2 separate regions of the Homo sapiens genome follow, and region 1 is linked to region 2. The links are contacts of gene promoters, found by promoter capture Hi-C in human tissues and cell types (Jung and others, 2019). All regions are on one chromosome and are shown on one strand. Each heading gives the region's core, a stretch centred on a gene start or on the middle of the fragment in contact. The rest is flanking DNA. Distances are from core to core; before and after follow the strand shown. Region 1 has its middle 40 kb from the start of PRSS2. Region 2 holds the start of OR9A2 (olfactory receptor family 9 subfamily A member 2).

Region 1 (5,882 bases), core at 1,155-3,654, 220 kb after region 2:
CAGTTCAGGAGTTAATTATGCCTGTCCAGGTCTCAAAATCTGTCTGCCAGGGATGAAGATTATGCAGGCGATCCCTTTGGCTGTCATAGAAGCTTCCTGCCCTCAGAACTGAGCATTTCTGCTTTGATTACCCCAAAATACCTGAATCTCTTGAGCCCTATCCTTTCATCTCCCAGGTAACATGTCTAGCTCTAGTTTCCAATTTCAGATAAACTAAAATCTTTTTTCATCCTTCTATCAGTATCACAGTTTCTCTGAAGCTTTCCCAGGCTTCTGATGTCTCCCGGGGGAGCTGGAGAGTTACCTTTAGTTTACAGGTAAATAATGAGTCATTAAATATATTTACATACCAGGATGTCAGCAGGAATGCAAAGAAGATAACAAGTGCAGAGTATAGCTGGTTCCCAGGGAGGCTGGGGGTGATTCACCACACTCTTAAAAGAAGACTAGCCTCATTTCCTCCCCAGCTCATGGGGTAGGATTCCTCTGCTCTGGCAGCAGATCTCCCAGAGGGAGCAGCCTGACCACATCACTGGCCCAGAAGAGGAGGCGTCTGTCCCCCAGACTAGCTGAAGGAAAGGCTGGCTTGGATGATGCTCTGCTCTCTCCTTGCCCTTCTCCTGGGCACTTTCTTTGGTGGGTGCCCTCCTCTCTGGCAAGCCTCTTTTCTCATCCTCACCCTCACCCCAATCCCGTGAATGCAGAGTCTGAGCTGTTGGTTTGACACTCTTGAGTCTATTCCTGATTGTCTGGAACAGATATGGGAATTTAGCCTTAGGGGCTGATCTGATGATTCTTAGTTCTCTCTATCTCCTGAGAAGGAGTTCGTTCTGTTGGTCTTCCCTGGCCCAGGGATGCTTTGCATCCTTGGCTCCCCCAGTCTACTCCCCATGATGGATTCCAGGTGCCTGTGTCATGCAAGAGCTTGAGCTGCCCCTCTGTCTGGGGAAGGCAAGCCAGGCTGGGGTGCTCCTCTGTAAATGGCACTTTATCTTTCCCACAGGGGTCAGATCTCAGACTATTCATCAATGGCCAGCGACCCTGGTGCAGCCTGTGGGCAGCCCGCTCTCTCTGGAGTGCACTGTGGAGGGAACATCAAACCCCAACCTATACTGGTACCGACAGGCTGCAGGCAGGGGCCTCCAGCTGCTCTTCTACTCCGTTGGTATTGGCCAGATCAGCTCTGAGGTGCCCCAGAATCTCTCAGCCTCCAGACCCCAGGACCGGCAGTTCATCCTGAGTTCTAAGAAGCTCCTTCTCAGTGACTCTGGCTTCTATCTCTGTGCCTGGAGTGTCACACTGAGCTGGGTGGGGCAGACATCTGTGCAAAAACCCCACCCTCTCCTGAGCCCTAACCATACTCCCCAGGGGCCTTCACTTAGGGACTGGGTGGAGGATATTTGTAAGTAGGTTTCTGACTGCTGGCCAATGTGAAAGCAATGGAATAAAGCGAGAATTCTACAAAAGACTCTACTAAGTTCTCAGGGAGAACAAAAAATTGTATGTGTGCAGAACCTGTGATTTGCCTGCACATAGTCAAGTTCTCAATGTATGGATGTCCCGGCCCAGGCTACCATACTCCAGCCCTCAAGGTGTGCTATACCTTGCCTGATTTTCTAGTCTTCCAAATTCTTCTATGTGTGCCGTGGGGAGGGGGTTTGTGCATATATGGCTGAGAGAAAGGATATACCTGTGGCAGGAGGTGAGCTGGTGAACAAACGGGAGGATGCCAACCCAGGTTACTTAATTGGTTAATTTCATCACCTGGAGAGTCTCCTGTCATTGATCTTTCTGCTGAGACTAGAAATTATGGGGAGGCTTAGACCTGAGGCTTTGAGTCAGGCAAAGAGGCAAGATGTTCAGGAGACTGTTCTCATTCGAGGCAGAAGTGTGGTTTTGTTAGTATAGGTAACATGCACTTAGGCCAGACGTGGTAGCTCATGCCTGTAATCCCAGCACTTTGGGAGGCTGAGGCAGGAGGATCACCTGAGGTCAGGAGTTTGAGACCAGCCTGGCCAATATGGTGAAACCTGTCTCTACTAAAAGTACAAAAATTAACCGGGCGTGGTGGCAGGCGTCTGTAATACTAGCTACTTGGGAGGCTGAGGCAAGAGAATCACTTGAACCTGGGAGGTGGAGGTTGCAGTGAGCCAAGATCATGCCACTGCACTCTAGCCTGGGTGACAGAGCGAGACTCTGTCTCAAAAAAAAAAAAAATAAAAATAAGCTTGCACTTAGAAATTTTGGTGATGTTTGAGGTTTTAAAAAATGTCCTGTTGTACTATCTTGTAGCCCTTCCTTTGTAGCAAAGACAGACAGATGGTGATCCAAGAGATACGCAAGAAGAGGACCGTGTGTGTAATGGTTGAGCTCTAAAAAAGAGAAATCACTTGGATGGAAATGAAGGAGAGGAAAAGGCTGATGTGGATGGCTGGGAAGAGGTTCGATGGTTACCTTGGCAACTGAGCTTCCTTCCTCATCCCCATCCCTCCCTAGTCCTTGTTCTTAAAAAGATTTTCTTTCTAATGTCCCTTCCCCTCCACAAGGGGGCACAAGATGTCTTAAAATACTCCATTCCGGGCATCATTTAACCTAGATCAATCCAGACACGTGCATATTTCTAGTATCATTTAATCTGAAGTGGAAAATCTGAGATGTAGACACAGAGTGATCAAGAACATATGGAATAATGCCCAGGGGTCCCTACTGAACTTTAAGGATCACCTATGTATTAAGCAGCTATTATTTGCTGGACACAGTGAGTCATTTTGAGGATTAAAAAGAAAAATAAAATGTACTCGAGATGGTGTTGGGCACAGTCATAGCATGATTTAGTCAAAGCACTTGATTTTTGTAGTCTAAAAATTTGCTAGTTGTTATGAACTTGACCTAGTTATTTAATTTTACTAAGTTTCAAGTTTTTCCCCACCTATAAAACTTGCCTCATTGAATTGTTATGTGTATTAAATGAGATGGTGTTTATAAAGCCCTATTACAAGCTCTAATTTTCAACAGGTATTATTTTCCGCTCCTTAAGCTTACAAGATTATTTTCATTACAACTTACCCAAGAGGAAGACTTAGTTAAAAAATTTCAAATCATAAACTACAAGTATGTAATAAATATTAATATTTAAAATGCTAAACATGCTTGGATGGCAAAACCATGAAACTTGAACCCTATGCTGTGCCTATTCAGATGCTGATTCTGTAGGGGCTTTATACAGCTTCAGAATCCTCATTAATAGAGAAATGTCTCAGGCAATCACCACTAGTCAAGTAGAATTAGTAGAGACTTGAGGCAGATTTTTCCTTCCTGTAATATACTGCAAAAATTCTGGAAAACTTCACAAAGGACATAAAATTGTAGCTAAGTTTAGCTCTTTAGGAGGCTAATAGTTATATAAGCAAAATGACATTGCAAGCAGGAGAGTCAGTTTGTGTAGAAATGTGCAGGTCTATGTGAATATTGTAAGTTTTAGAGAATCTGAAGAAAAAAAGTCCTGATCATTGCACAGAGCATCCTAGAGACAGGTGAGCATTGAAGGAGAGGCTTGAAAGCCACCTAAATTCAGCAGAACAAATTAACATCCTCCATGTTATCTGCTCTTATTCATGCAAGACTGTTCATTCCCATAACTGTTTCCATACCATCTAGGACTCAGAAATCCACAGTCATTATAATTCCAGGGGACAAAGGAAAGCAGTTTAGGATGACCGATCCTGTTCAGACATGCTGTCTCTTGCCAATAATTCATCAAACTCACTTGCCCCTTTAATCAGATGAGGCTGTCTCTTTTCTAGGAGAGCTTCCAGGATTTGCATCTGATTTTGCAGATGTGCAGGATGACTATTTCCATATATCTCCTTCCCTGGCCAGTTGCACATGGAAGATTCAGGGCCACATGCTGGTGGCCAGAGGCACTCTCCCCAAGATGCTTCTCATAGATCTCAGCCACCCATGGGACTTATAAGGAGATACCCTTGTGCCTCTAAATAGATCTCAGCCACCCATGGGACTTATAGGGAGTCACCCTGGGGCCTCTGGACAGCTTGAGTAAGATGAAGAATGCCCGGGGTTGGGAAGCTGGTAATACTAAAATTAGGCGACTTCTTATTTTTGCCCAGGATTCAGTGGTTTGGGATAAGAATGCTACAATCCCTTGAGCTCCTGCAGAGCAGGCTTGACCTATTATATACCTGGTAATTTCCCACTACTTACTTTGGGGGTTTCTGCCTCTCTAGTTTTTCATTCTGTCTTGCATTATGTTCTTCTAAGATGTGTTAGAAAATATTCATCACACAGACCTTACAGGCTTTAGCAACTACAGGAAAAAACTACGAGGAGCCAGTCAATGCAGTGCACAAACACTGGCTCAGACATCCAGGGACTGTCCGTTTTGCAGTCTGTTGGTTATCTAGGGCTACCTCTCCTGTGACTCATCAGCACCTCTCATTACATGAGTGGAAGGAAGTGGGAGGATACATGTGGAGGGAGGTGGAAGGGAGTTTGGGGGGCAGGTGGGAAGAGAGAGTTGCCTGAGTGATGTGGGACCAGAAGGGATCCCAACTGGGTCAGAGCAGTTATTGCAGCTGTTTTTCATTCTCCACTATCTTCATGGTGCCCACTGTGGCCTTTGATCTTGTGCATAACCTCCAGCAGGTGTAAAGATGTGTTGGGGGAGGGGAGGCCTGCACATGGATCTGGGATACCTAGATTCCCCTCTAGAGACCCTGCCCCTCCCCTCTGAAGTTCTATTTCTACTGCCAGGATGCTAACCAGGGGCCCAGGTAGAAAGAGCAGCATAGGAGGGGGTTGGGTGCCGGATGCGGTGAGTGTGGTTCTCATGATGCTCTGAAGGTGGGTGGGTGGAGGGAGCAACTTTCACAGGCACCCCAGATGCAGGACCCAGTAAATGTCAAACCACATCCTGTTGTGACTGTAAGAGATGGAGCTAGGGCAGGTGGCTGCTGTGGCTTGGTGCTGATGTGACTCAGAGATAAACAGCCCGGCAGCCAGCACTGGGCTCAGAACCCCCATTCCTACCCCAGTTGTCAGCTATTACCTAAAAGACCCCGATTTACATCTCATTACTTCCCACCTTTTGATTCAGGGCCACTCTCCTTTTTAACACAATTTTCTTGTCATTCATGGCCCTAGACCTTTTTGATGGAGGAGGGCCAGGGAACAGGTGTCAGGGCTCCAGTTGACTCTTGCTAACTGTGGGACTCCAGTGCCAGTGCTGTCCTCTTCCACCATCAGACTGTCTGAGACTATGTCACAGATATGTATGATTTGAGGCCAGGAAGAGCTTAGCTTCTCTGAGTTCCCATTCTCTTGGTACTTCAGAGACTGCAGGCTTTGAATCAGAGAATCTGAAGAGCAGAGTTTGAAGATTCTTAGAGATCACTTTACCCAATGTCCTCATATCACAGAGGAGGACATATAAGCCCAGAGAATAAAAATGAGTTGTTCAGAGCCATGCAGCTGGGGCCAGAGGAGGACCAGAAGCTAATTCTCTGTGTTTTAGCAGCTCCTGGACTTCAGACAAGGCTTGGGGAATGTGGGGTCTCTGTTGAGCTGTGATCTTGCTATGAATTTCATGAATCACTCTTATAGTAATGAATCAGGCAAGATGATCATATCTGAGATGGCATGAGGATAGAAGGATAAATATAATGAATCACAAAATTAGAATCCTGCAGAATCTTAATAGGTTGGAGAGATAAGCTGAATAAACATGATAAACATTCTCTCTCTCCCTCCTCCCCCACCAAACAGAGAAAACCATCTATATGAACACAGGAAGGGGAATATGTGAAAGAAGGATATGTGAAAAAACACCCAGGGGGTGAGTCAAAGTGAGCTCTGTGAGTCAACGG
Region 2 (5,587 bases), core at 1,316-3,815:
CAGCCCCAGTATTAAGAAGTCCCTGATTGGTAAGATTTCAGGTTTTCCCGTCAAACAAAAACTTTCAAAAGTTCTAAAACTTAATTGGTCAAAAAATGGGAATAACTTAAAGTTTGTTCTGCTCCCACTAGACTGATTGCCTGGGGACTCCCTGAACGTGGGCTAATTAAGAAGTAGTAACTCGGTGATTAAGTACCCTTGGGAAGAAGGGAAGAGGGAGGAGAGGGGAGAGAGAGAGGACCCTCAACTTTGCCCAACACTCATTTCTGGGCTTTTTCCTAAGCTCCTCTGGGAGGACATTTCCCTTCTTCGCCATGAGTGGGGATTGCAGCAACTTGTTCTGGCCCCTGTGCATGGCTCAGCACTAGCAGGACAGGAGGTAGCCTCAGCGGAGCCCTAGAGAACATCAGAAGAGGCGGCGAAGCCCCTCTGTAAAGGTGAGTGTCTTTCCAAGGGGTCTCCTCTATGAAGAAGAGGGTAAAAGCATTTTAGGATGGGACATCCTGGGCCTGCCTATCTTCTAGAACAAAGTCACCCAGATATTGAAGTGTGGGCTAGGGGAGCAGTAGAGTGTATAGGCTCATCTCCAGACCCTTCCTGCATAGCAGAGAGCACTTCCGGCTCCTCTTGGACCCAATGCTAACACAGTCACGGCTCCCTGACAGTCGGTGTCCTTCTCGCTCATGTTTCTTCATCTCGTGCTGGTTATGCAGAGGTTGTGGAAAACCAGAACACTGAGCTTTCCCATCAATTCTGTCCCTGAAGCTTTTTAAACCATTAGTAAAACAGTGACGTAGACAGGGAAGGGGTTACCTAAGCAAGGGAAGGGCAGGAGGGAAAATGGTAATGTGAGGCAGGAAGGAAAACCAACCAGAATAGGATTGAGGGAATGTGGCCCAGGCCCTGGCCAGAACAAGTATTATTTAATCATATATTATCCATCCATCCATCCATACCTCATCTAGCAAAATTTGTCAGCACTACTTATTTTATGTATATGATACATATATCTTATGTATTTAAATATCTTATAAATAAAAAATATATGTATATTTTATATAATATAAGATATATTTCATATATCTTATTTCATATATCTTATATAAATAAGATAAATAATATAAGATAATAATATAATATAAGGTGTGGTAGTTAGCTGTGTGAGTGATGAAATCTGACAGACCTAGGTTCAAATCTTGACTCACACAGCTATTAGTTCGGTTACCTTGTGATAAATTAATACATAATTTAATATATAAGATATATCTATGATATATTCATTTCACATAATGTATCTGTCTATATCTATATAAAAGATATATGATATATATATATAAAATATATAACTACTTAATTTATGTATGTACATTTTATGTGCCAGCCTCAGAATACAACAGTGAAGACATGTCCTAGCCCTCATGGAGTTTATATTCTAATGCCGTTGATAAATAATAAATACACTTAAATTTCCTCTCCTTCTTTCTTGCTTATTTTTTTCCCTGTGACATGATAAGCAAACTAAACTATTGCATATTTTACTTAGGTGTCTTGTGTGTGGTCTAGCCCCCACCTCTTCCTTGAATATAAGCTCCACAGGGCATGGAATTTTCTTTGTTCTGTTCATGACTACATTTGTTTATTGTTAAATAAAGGAATGAAGTAAATAATTAGACATAATACAAGGTAATAACAACTGTTATTAAAAAAATGGAAGTCCAATAATAAGTGTGTCTTTTCTGTTTTGGGCAGAGTGATTGGAAAGAGTCTTTGGAAAGGGTGACATTTGAATAATGGAATGAAGCGACAGGCAGAGAGCCAGGCATCCTTAACAGCTGGCGGTCCCAGATCTATTCCTTTTCTGTGCCAGGTGCCATCTTTCCTTCCTCCCACAACTTTGGAAGGAAAATGGAATTAGAGAAGAATGGATCTGTTCTGGGAAATTATCCCAAGCTCTAGAGTTCTCATTTAGAGATCTTGCTGTTCTGTAAAATGGAGATTTTAAAATCTGGAACAGCAGAGATGTTAGTCTTACATCCTCTGCCTCCTTTCTGCTGGCCCCAAAGGTGGGTCTATGCATTACCATTACAGATGAGAGCTGGGGTTTAAAATTCTGTCCTTTGAACATCATATAAAATGCCTTTGTGTCATCTTGCACAGTTAACCTAAGAGAAAGTAACTCCAGGACCGGAGGGACCTGATTGACTCACCTTTAAAACTGGCCTATTTAAAAGGTCTTAGCCTCTGCCCCCGAGAGAAGGTATATTTAATGGGGAAAAAGGCAAGGAAGGTATTTCACCACCAGTAGAAGAAGATGTCTTCACCCATTCTAGGGGGCTGGTTACACAGGGAAGTGAGAGCCTCACTTGTAGACTTGGGATGACAACATGTACCTCAAGCTATGTATGTGCCGACCACAGTAGCAGGGACATGTCACCTGATTCTCAGGTTGGAAATAGTTTCTTAACCTAATTTTTCTTCCTTCTCTCTTGAGAGCAGGACCATGTGGAGCAATGCCACCTCTCTTTTAATCTCTGGGCTTCAAAACAAGCAGAATCAAGGACTAAATGATGGACAACCACTCTAGTGCCACTGAATTCCACCTTCTAGGCTTCCCTGGGTCCCAAGGACTACACCACATTCTTTTTGCTATATTCTTTTTCTTCTATTTAGTGACATTAATGGGAAACACGGTCATCATTGTGATTGTCTGTGTGGATAAACGTCTGCAGTCCCCCATGTATTTCTTCCTCAGCCACCTCTCTACCCTGGAGATCCTGGTCACAACCATAATTGTCCCCATGATGCTTTGGGGATTGCTCTTCCTGGGATGCAGACAGTATCTTTCTCTACATGTATCGCTCAACTTTTCCTGTGGGACCATGGAGTTTGCATTACTTGGAGTGATGGCTGTGGACCGTTATGTGGCTGTGTGTAACCCTTTGAGGTACAACATCATTATGAACAGCAGTACCTGTATTTGGGTGGTAATAGTGTCATGGGTGTTTGGATTTCTTTCTGAAATCTGGCCCATCTATGCCACATTTCAGTTTACCTTCCGCAAATCAAATTCATTAGACCATTTTTACTGTGACCGAGGGCAATTGCTCAAACTGTCCTGCGATAACACTCTTCTCACAGAGTTTATCCTTTTCTTAATGGCTGTTTTTATTCTCATTGGTTCTTTGATCCCTACGATTGTCTCCTACACCTACATTATCTCCACCATCCTCAAGATCCCGTCAGCCTCTGGCCGGAGGAAAGCCTTCTCCACTTTTGCCTCCCACTTCACCTGTGTTGTGATTGGCTATGGCAGCTGCTTGTTTCTCTACGTGAAACCCAAGCAAACACAGGGAGTTGAGTACAATAAGATAGTTTCCCTGTTGGTTTCTGTGTTAACCCCCTTCCTGAATCCTTTCATCTTTACTCTTCGGAATGACAAAGTCAAAGAGGCCCTCCGAGATGGGATGAAACGCTGCTGTCAACTCCTGAAAGATTAGCTGTTCTGTAAGTCAGTTTTAGGTGGTCCAAGCCTCAGGGTTAATTATTAAGTCACCTAGAAAATTCTAACTCCTCTTTTCTCTTATCCTCTCATTACAAAAGTCAAAGAGTGTGTACAATTCGCCATCACACCATGGAAGTAGATTAGGCTGGTAATAATGAAATCCATTGTCTGTCCAGGAGACTCTCATAGCCTTAGTTCCTGCCTGTTTCCACTGTTGAACATATTCTTGTGATTTGGGGGGGACTAGAGAAAGGAAATGCAGACATTTTTGTAAGAATTCTATTAGCCCAACTCATTTCCTCATAGTCCATCTCTGAAAATGTATTTTCTGGGGAAGGGAGGAAGTGTGGAGGGAGGTGTACTGAGAAAGGTGTCCTAATCAGAGTAGAAAGGTAGAGATGCTCACTTTGGTCCTTCATCACCTGTTGCTAAGTTCTTCCCTATATTTTTGTGCAATTTTTTGGCAAGATGGCCATATGCATTTTAGATATCCTAAAGCTCTTTCTCTCTGCCCCATTGATACTGGAAAGGAAGTGTAACACTGTTTACGTTTTGTCACAGAACCAGTCTAGAATGGCGATATGAGGATTGGAATGCTTCTCATTCAGGAGATATTTGTGGTGTAAAGAAGATAAAAATATTTGAGGATAAAAATGGAGGAAAATTTATTTTTGTTAAGCTTCAGCATATTCCTTTCACTGCCCTTCTTTGTGGTGAGTATAGGGACAGGGGCAAATAAGAACTAAATGACTAATTCTAGAGAGCATCCTGTATTTTATGGCTGTTAAACACAACTATGTCTGTTCAGACTGTATCCAGATCTAGACTTCAAACTTTATAATGTCTTTTGATTCTCCGTCTCTCAAATCCAACAGTCTCAGTACCATCATGTGTATCTTCTCTGTGGGCAGAATTTTTTAAAAATAAGAGGCCATTCTTTTGACTCCCGGCTTTCTAGAAATTATAGGGATTGGCTGTTTGGTAGTGTAACTGTTGGAATTTCACATAATATTGGAAGAAGTCCTTATAAGGAAGAAGTTTACCTAAACAACAACAATCAGCAGATTCTACCAGCCCTAAAGTAAGTGAGAAAATTGAGCTGTTCAGCAGTGGGATGATGAGGCTACTGAGAATTTTGAAGAGTACTGTGTGAGGATGCCAGGTTGTCTTGTCCTGTGAGGAGTGATAACCGTCATGTATGTTTGGGTAGTTTGCATTGCATTAAAGTACCAGACAAGGTGGGGAATGAGCTTTAAATTCAGCCAGCCCATGCTCTGCAAGCCAACCAATGGACTCTGGTGGCACTGCATTGGCTGGAGAAAGGGGAGACTTTTGCTTAAACAAAGGTGCCCATGGTTTCCAAGCCCAGTAAATGAGGATCTGTTCTGACCAGAAAGAATACCTTTTTTCTAATTCATTAATCCAGAGAAGTATCCTTTAAGAGATGAGACAATAGAAGCTCAGAGAATTTAAATAACTTGCCAAAGTTTACTTAGCCATCCACTGTATCACATCCATCAGATTGGAAAAACATAAAACTCTGAGAATACTAAGTATTGATCTGAATGCTGGCGAATAGGGTTTTTAAAAAACCAACTTCTGGTAGAAATATAAGATATAAGATCCAAATAATTAGATAGTAGATGTCTATAATTAGGTTCTAGTATAGTCATAATAAGATAGTGGTAGTCCATTTTGCATTGCTATAACAGAATATAAATAATACCAGCCTGGATTATTTGCAAAGAAAATAAACATACTTGGCTTATGATTCTGGACACTGAAAATTTATTTGGCTTATGATTCAAGAGCATAACACCGGCATCTGACAAGGGCCTTGGTGCTGTGTCATCCTATGGCAGAAGGTGGAAGGGCAAGAGAGGGCCAGAGTGAGAGGGCAAGAGAGGGCCAAACTCATTTTCATAACAAATCCACTCTCAGAATAACAAACTCACTCCTGTGAAAACAACACTAATTCATTCATGAGGGGATATCCCTCATGACTTAATCGCCTCTTAAAGGTCTTACCTCTCAACAATGTCACAATGGTAATTAAATTTCAACATGAGTTTTGGAGGGGACGTT

Evidence for each region. Contacts are between HindIII fragments. The study calls those that stand out against the background at their distance.
Region 1: a fragment that was not itself captured here is called in contact with the fragment with the promoter of OR9A2 in region 2 in 2 of the 25 tissues and cell types used here (liver and thymus).

Annotation. Positions count from the first base shown.
Region 1 is chr7:142,807,999-142,813,880 of GRCh38, reverse strand. It overlaps TRB and TRBV30. Among named protein-coding and RNA genes, the nearest start is that of PRSS2, 40 kb to the right of the region's middle. RefSeq lists a cis regulatory region at 4,280-5,171 and an enhancer at 4,293-5,492. The HindIII fragment of the contact is 4,455 bases long and covers 177-4,631 here.
Region 2 is chr7:143,024,110-143,029,696 of GRCh38, reverse strand. It overlaps OR9A2 (olfactory receptor family 9 subfamily A member 2), which reads left to right and starts at 2,565. Exons shown (of 1, transcript NM_001001658.1): 1 at 2,565-3,497. The coding sequence starts at 2,565. The coding sequence ends at 3,497. LOC105375544 (a long non-coding RNA gene) reads left to right here. Exons shown (of 2, transcript XR_001745395.1): 2 at 1-437. The HindIII fragment of the contact is 7,003 bases long and covers 1-5,587 here.